2 separate regions of the Homo sapiens genome follow, and region 1 is linked to region 2. The links are contacts of gene promoters, found by promoter capture Hi-C in blood cells and fetal thymus (Javierre and others, 2016). All regions are on one chromosome and are shown on one strand. The core of a region is centred on a gene start or on the middle of the fragment in contact, and the rest is flanking DNA. Distances in the headings are between cores, read along the strand shown. Region 1 holds the start of DENND6B (DENN domain containing 6B). Region 2 holds the start of MIOX (myo-inositol oxygenase).

Region 1 (2,700 bases), core at 16-2,515, 160 kb before region 2:
CCCACCCAGTGATGCTGTTTGAGGCTGTGCACCTGCTGGGGACCGTGTGTGGTGGGAGGGGCTCCAGAGAGTGCTAGAGTTAATGCTTTTCTGTTTAGAAGACTATATGCTTCTCATGGCCTCTTGGAGTTCAGCAGGGCCTTAGAAAGCATCTCCCAACCACAGAGACGCGCTGCCTGGCTTTCCTGATGATGATGATTTGGCCTGATCTTGGACACCTGCGGTAATAGAGAGCTCACTACCCCTCACGAGGTTCCTTGCGCCAGCGCGGGGAAGCCTCCCTCCATCTGCAGGTGGGCCTCCCCTGTGCTGGTCAGCTCCCTGGTGTGTGTTACACAGGACACAGAGAAGATCATCCTGCGGGGCCTCCCTGGAGGAAAGGAGGCTGCCTGTGTGGGTAGGTGAGTGGAGGCCTGCAGGCAGCAGAAAGACCACATCGAAAGCCCATGGGCACAGCCGATGAACAGACCCCCACGAGCAAGAACACCACAAGACGCAGGTGGAGGGACGGGGCCCATGGGGTCTGGATCTGATGCTAGGTGAACAAGGAGGCGCTGCAGGGTTTTAAGCAGGAGAGCCACAAAGGTTGAACTCTGGGGTGCAGCTGGGGTGGGGATGACATCAGTGATGGCAGCAAAGGAACGGATCCGAGACCTTTGTTGCAGAAGGAGCCGTCAGCCTCGCCTATGCCCAGAGATGGGATGCGGAGCGGAGGGTAAGCCCGGGACTCTGGCGGGAGCCACTGAGGGGATGAAGGTGTCACTGCTCCGGTGGGGAATGGAGGGGGGAGATGTGAGACATTTACTGGGAAAAATCGAAAGAGTACCACTTAGGTTATGCAAAATGCTCCATCCCAATGTGAAGACAAGATCCGACTCCGAGCAGCTCGCCTTCCCTCCTCGGCCTGGGGAGCGCTTCTGGAGCCCGGAGAAGAGGCCCCTCCAGGAGGCGGCGGCCGAAGGCCAGGGAGAGTGCGGGGCGGCCGAGGGCCCCAAGCGAGGCGGGACTGGCCCCGAGAGGCGCAGCCCTGCCCACCCGCCCGCGCCCGCGCTCGCGCCCGCTCACCTCCAGCGCCTGGCCCAGCTCCAGGTCGAAGGTGACCACGCACACACACTCCAGCCAGGCGGAGAAGCGCGCCCAGGGCGCCGCCGGGGTCCGCGCCGCGCGACCTGAAGACGTGGGTCCAGCCGCGCCCAGGCAGCCGCGAGCCCGGCGAGGCCCTGTGCCCAACAGCGCGTCCATGGCGGCGGCCGCGGGTTGCCGGGGAAACGCGGGCGGGGGCGGCGCGCGTCCGGGCCGCTCCTCAGAACAGTCGAGCGGCCGCCGCGGCCCAGTGCGGCTCCCGCGCGGCCGCGCGCCCCCTAGCGCCCGAGAAGCGCCAGCGGCCGGGCGCCGCCCAGGGCACCAGCGAGCCGGACGCGCGCGGGCCAGAGCGGCCGGAGCCCACTGGGGGACTTCCGGGGAAGCGGCCGAACTGGGGCCTTCCAGGGTCCACGCCGTCTGAGGCCCGAGAGAGTCGGTTCGGCCCCGGTGTTCGCGGATCCCGGCTCGCGGGAGCCTCGGGGCCAGGCCAGGGAGGCAGAGCAAGCTGCAGCCAGCCGGCGCCGGGCTCGTCGGGCTTCGCAGGTCCGGCCAGCCTACCTCGCCCCACCGCGCAGGGGCCAGCGGCGTCGCGGGCGTTTTCGTGGCGGAATGGCGTCCTCACTGAGCGCCCAGCCACCACCGCGGACTCGCGCTCGCTTCCTCTGGGGCCCGCGCGGCCTGGGGTCGTGTCTGACCGCGGGTGTCCACGCAACACCTCTGCAGTTTCACTTTCCGGGGGAATCGCGGGGACCTGGAGCGAACTCTTCCCTCCCTCGCGAGGGCCCCGGGCCCCGCTGTGGTCCACAGAGCACCTTGAGGCCCGGCGTGGAAGGGCGAGTTTGGGGCTGTCGGTAACTTAATGAGGCACGCCTTTGAGTCGTGGGCCTCATGACGTTTCCGTGGAAGGCGGGCCGCATATACTGTGGTGGTCCCTTCAGATTACCACGTGTTGGCCAGACGCGGTGGCTCACGCCTGTAATCTCACCGCTTTGGGAGGCCGAGGTGGGGTGGCGGATCACGAATCCAGGAAATCGAGACCAACCTGGTGAAACCCTGTCTCTACTGAAAATACAAAAATTAGCCGGGCGTGGTGGCTGGCGAGCGCCGTAACCCCAGCTATTGGGGAGGCTGAGGCAGGAGAATCGTTTGAACCCCGGAGGCGAAGCTTGCAGTGAGCTGAGATGTCGCCATTGCACTCCAGCCTGGGCGACAGAGTGAGACTCCATCTCAAAAATAAAAAAATAAAAGATTACCACGTGTTGTTCGGATCATCTGGCCTAGGTGTGGGGTAGGCTGTCCCATCTAGGTTTGTCACATAACAAAATCGCCTAATGACACATTTCTCAGGACATAGCTTCACCGTTGAGTAGCACATGGCCGTATTGTTTTTTGTTTGTTTGTTTCTGTTGTTTTTTTTGAGACAGAATGTTGCTCTTGTTGCCCAGGCAGGAGTGCAATGGCATGGTCTTGGCTCACTGCAACCTCTGCCTACTGGGTTCGAGCGATTCTCCTGCCTCAGCCTCCCGAGTAGCTGGAATTACAGGCGTGCACCACCACGCCAGGCTAATTTCTGTATTTTTGGTAGAAACGGTTTCACCATTTTGGCCAGGCTGGTCT
Region 2 (2,700 bases), core at 21-2,520:
GGAGATAGAAGGAGACAAACGTAGAAGGTAGAATAAGTGGGTGGTGGAGTGGCAGGGAGTGCTGAGTGCCACAGGAAGTCAGACAAGGAAGGAGAGTGTGGGGCAGGTGCCGTTTAAATGGGGGGCGCTGGGGTCTCCTCACAGTTGCTTCTCAGCTCAGCTGTGCCAGGATCTTGTTGAGTCAGGTCAGCTGCCCACAGCCCTCTTGCCTGACCCCTGAAGCCCAGAACTCTGATCTTCACAGCCCTAGGTATGGCCCCAGCACCCCACTGCCCTCTCTCCTGCCCCAGCCGACTGCTGTTCCCAGACTTCCCTGGCCACGCTCCAAGACGCCAGCTCTGCCGCGGGCACTTTGTTCTCACGGTGTCCTCCATGCCTGCAGGGCCCATGCATGGGAAGTTGCGTTGGCGGCCTGGGTGTTGGCGGTTCCGTGCCTGCTCCAACTCTCCGTGAGGCCCCTCTCCCAGAGCCTGACACACTCTGTGGCCGAACTCTAGGCAGGTGCCCCTGAGTCCTTTCCTCGACGAGGCCTGACCCCATCCCCATCCTCGCTGGGCCCGCCGACCCCGGTGTTAGCAAGAATCCTCTAAATCAGTTTATGGAGAATTACCCACCCTCGATATCTGATCCCATTCCTCATCTCCCACCCTTGATCTCATCACCCTGCCGGCCTCCTGCAAGATCCTCATTGAGCCACTCCAGTGAGAATCCCCCTACCCTCGAAGGCCGCCCTAACAACTTCCCATCCGCTGACCCCTCCAACGCCATCAATCTCCAGCTGTGGTTGTTGAACTCGGAGGTGAGCTCCTCTCACCACTCTCTTGAATAAAGCTTTTCTCACCATTTTAACAAGTCCTCAGAATCATCTTTTCTTAACAAGCTCCTGCCCCACCCAGAATCACGGGGGGCCTGGGGACAAGTTTTCACCTCCTGAGATCCAGTGGGGCAGCCGGGGAAGGGGTGGTGCAGAGGGGGCGTGTGCTTGAGGGTGGGGTCTTGGGTCTGCCCCTACTTGTGGGACCCCACAGAGGGGTCTAAGGCCAGGGCCCAAGTGGGAGGCTGGGCCCACAGATAACCCTAGGCAGGTCAGCGGCTCGGGACAGGAGTGTGAGGCTGAGTCAGGGCCAGAGGATGTGGGACTGCTGGGGGCTGCTGCTGTGCTGACACATTAACTCCCTGAGGCCGGGAGGAGGGTGGATGGTCATTTATTACTGCGGACACTTATGTAACCTGGGGTGTATATAGGAGCCTGGCTGAGGACACACTCGCCAGCCTGTGCTTTGCCACCTGAGCGCCGCTCCCTCTCAGGATGAAGGTGACGGTGGTGAGTACCCAGACCCCATGCAGAGAGGCTCTGCTGACTGCTCTCCTGGTGGCCAGCCACTCCCGCCCTCTTCTAGCTGGCACTGGCCAGCCCTCCTCCTCCGTCCAGCTGGGCAAGAGCCAGCGGCTGCCGACCCCCAGGCTCCCTGTGGACTCAGTCTCCTCCCAAAGCCACTTCCACCCCTCAAGGGTGGCCATGGGTGCCGCTCAGGCGTGGTGTCCCCTGTACCCCGGAAGCAGACGTCTGCTGACTTTCGCTTTGCAGATGAGGACCTGGGAGTGAGAGCTCCTGGGACTCGCTGAGGCCAGGGCAGGGGCTGGGATGATGGCGTGGGAGAGGCTGTGTCCTCGCGTGTCACCCACCAGCCCTCGAGCAGAGGCAGGCTTGGAGTCTGCAGCCACCCTGGGAATGTCTGTGCTTCCTCGTGGAGCTGACATGATGGTGAAATAGGTTCAATCCTCCACCTACCCAGGGCCCAGACCCTTCCCTGGTCTACCGACCTGATGTGGACCCAGAGGTGGCCAAAGACAAGGCCAGCTTCCGGAACTACACGGTGAGTACCTTGCCGTCCTGCCCCCCTTCTCCCCCATCCACACCCTGGGGAGCAGCACTTGCCCTTCACACAGTTCCAGGGGGTGCCCTGTGGGAACTCCCACCCCCATCACACCCTGTGGGGCTGCCTGGGAGAGGGGAGGCATGGGGCCTCGTGTGCAGGGTGGGGGTGGCGCCACTGACCCTCCGGCCTGCAGTCAGGTCCCCTCCTGGACCGTGTCTTCACCACCTACAAGCTCATGCACACGCACCAGACAGTGGACTTCGTCAGGAGCAAGGTAGGCGTTTCCTGCCGCCCCGTGCAAACGCGGAGGGACCCTTGCCCTCAGCCCCATGAGCCCACCAGGCGCCGAGGGGATGGAGAGGCCTGTGTGGTGGGCCTGCTGACCCTGGGCCACACTGCCTTCTCCTTCCCCGCCAGCATGCCCAGTTTGGGGGCTTCTCCTACAAGAAAATGACAGTCATGGAGGCCGTGGACCTGCTGGATGGGCTGGTGGATGAGTCGGACCCGGACGTAGATTTCCCCAACTCCTTCCATGCCTTCCAGACAGCGGAGGGCATCCGGAAGGCCCACCCAGACAAGGGTGAGCCCTGGCTGTGCTGCAGGGGGGCAGGTGCTGCCTCCAAGGGGCAGAATGCAGCAGCCTGTAGGGTGGGAGGGGACAGTAGTGGGCCCAGGCCTCCTCCAGCAGCCCTGCCTGGGTTGGGGAGCAGGCCCTGGACCCTTCCTGGCTCTCAGCCCCGCAAACCTGCTCATCCTCTGCCTTGGCCCCTGCAGTCCCCAACCTGCCCTGTCCATCCCCCTCCCAGACTGGTTCCACCTC

What was found. Contacts are between HindIII fragments. The CHiCAGO score rates a contact against its expected background, and 5 or more counts as called.
Region 1: a contact is called between the fragment with the promoter of DENND6B here and the fragment with the promoter of MIOX in region 2, in 4 of 17 cell types (M0 macrophages, M2 macrophages, M1 macrophages and 1 more). The highest score is 6.1, in M0 macrophages.

What each region holds. Positions count from the first base shown.
Region 1 is chr22:50,325,747-50,328,446 of GRCh38, forward strand. It overlaps DENND6B (DENN domain containing 6B), which reads right to left and starts at 1,266. Exons shown (of 20, transcript NM_001001794.4): 1 at 1,066-1,266. The coding sequence starts at 1,242. RefSeq lists a silencer at 1,015-1,654. The HindIII fragment of the contact is 18,876 bases long and covers 1-2,246 here.
Region 2 is chr22:50,485,589-50,488,288 of GRCh38, forward strand. MIOX (myo-inositol oxygenase) reads left to right here and starts at 1,271. Exons shown (of 10, transcript NM_017584.6): 1 at 1,271-1,324; 2 at 1,797-1,877; 3 at 2,074-2,154; 4 at 2,298-2,460; 5 at 2,687-2,700. The coding sequence starts at 1,310. It overlaps ADM2 (adrenomedullin 2), which reads left to right. Exons shown (of 3, transcript NM_001253845.2): 3 at 1-849. The HindIII fragment of the contact is 4,673 bases long and covers 830-2,700 here.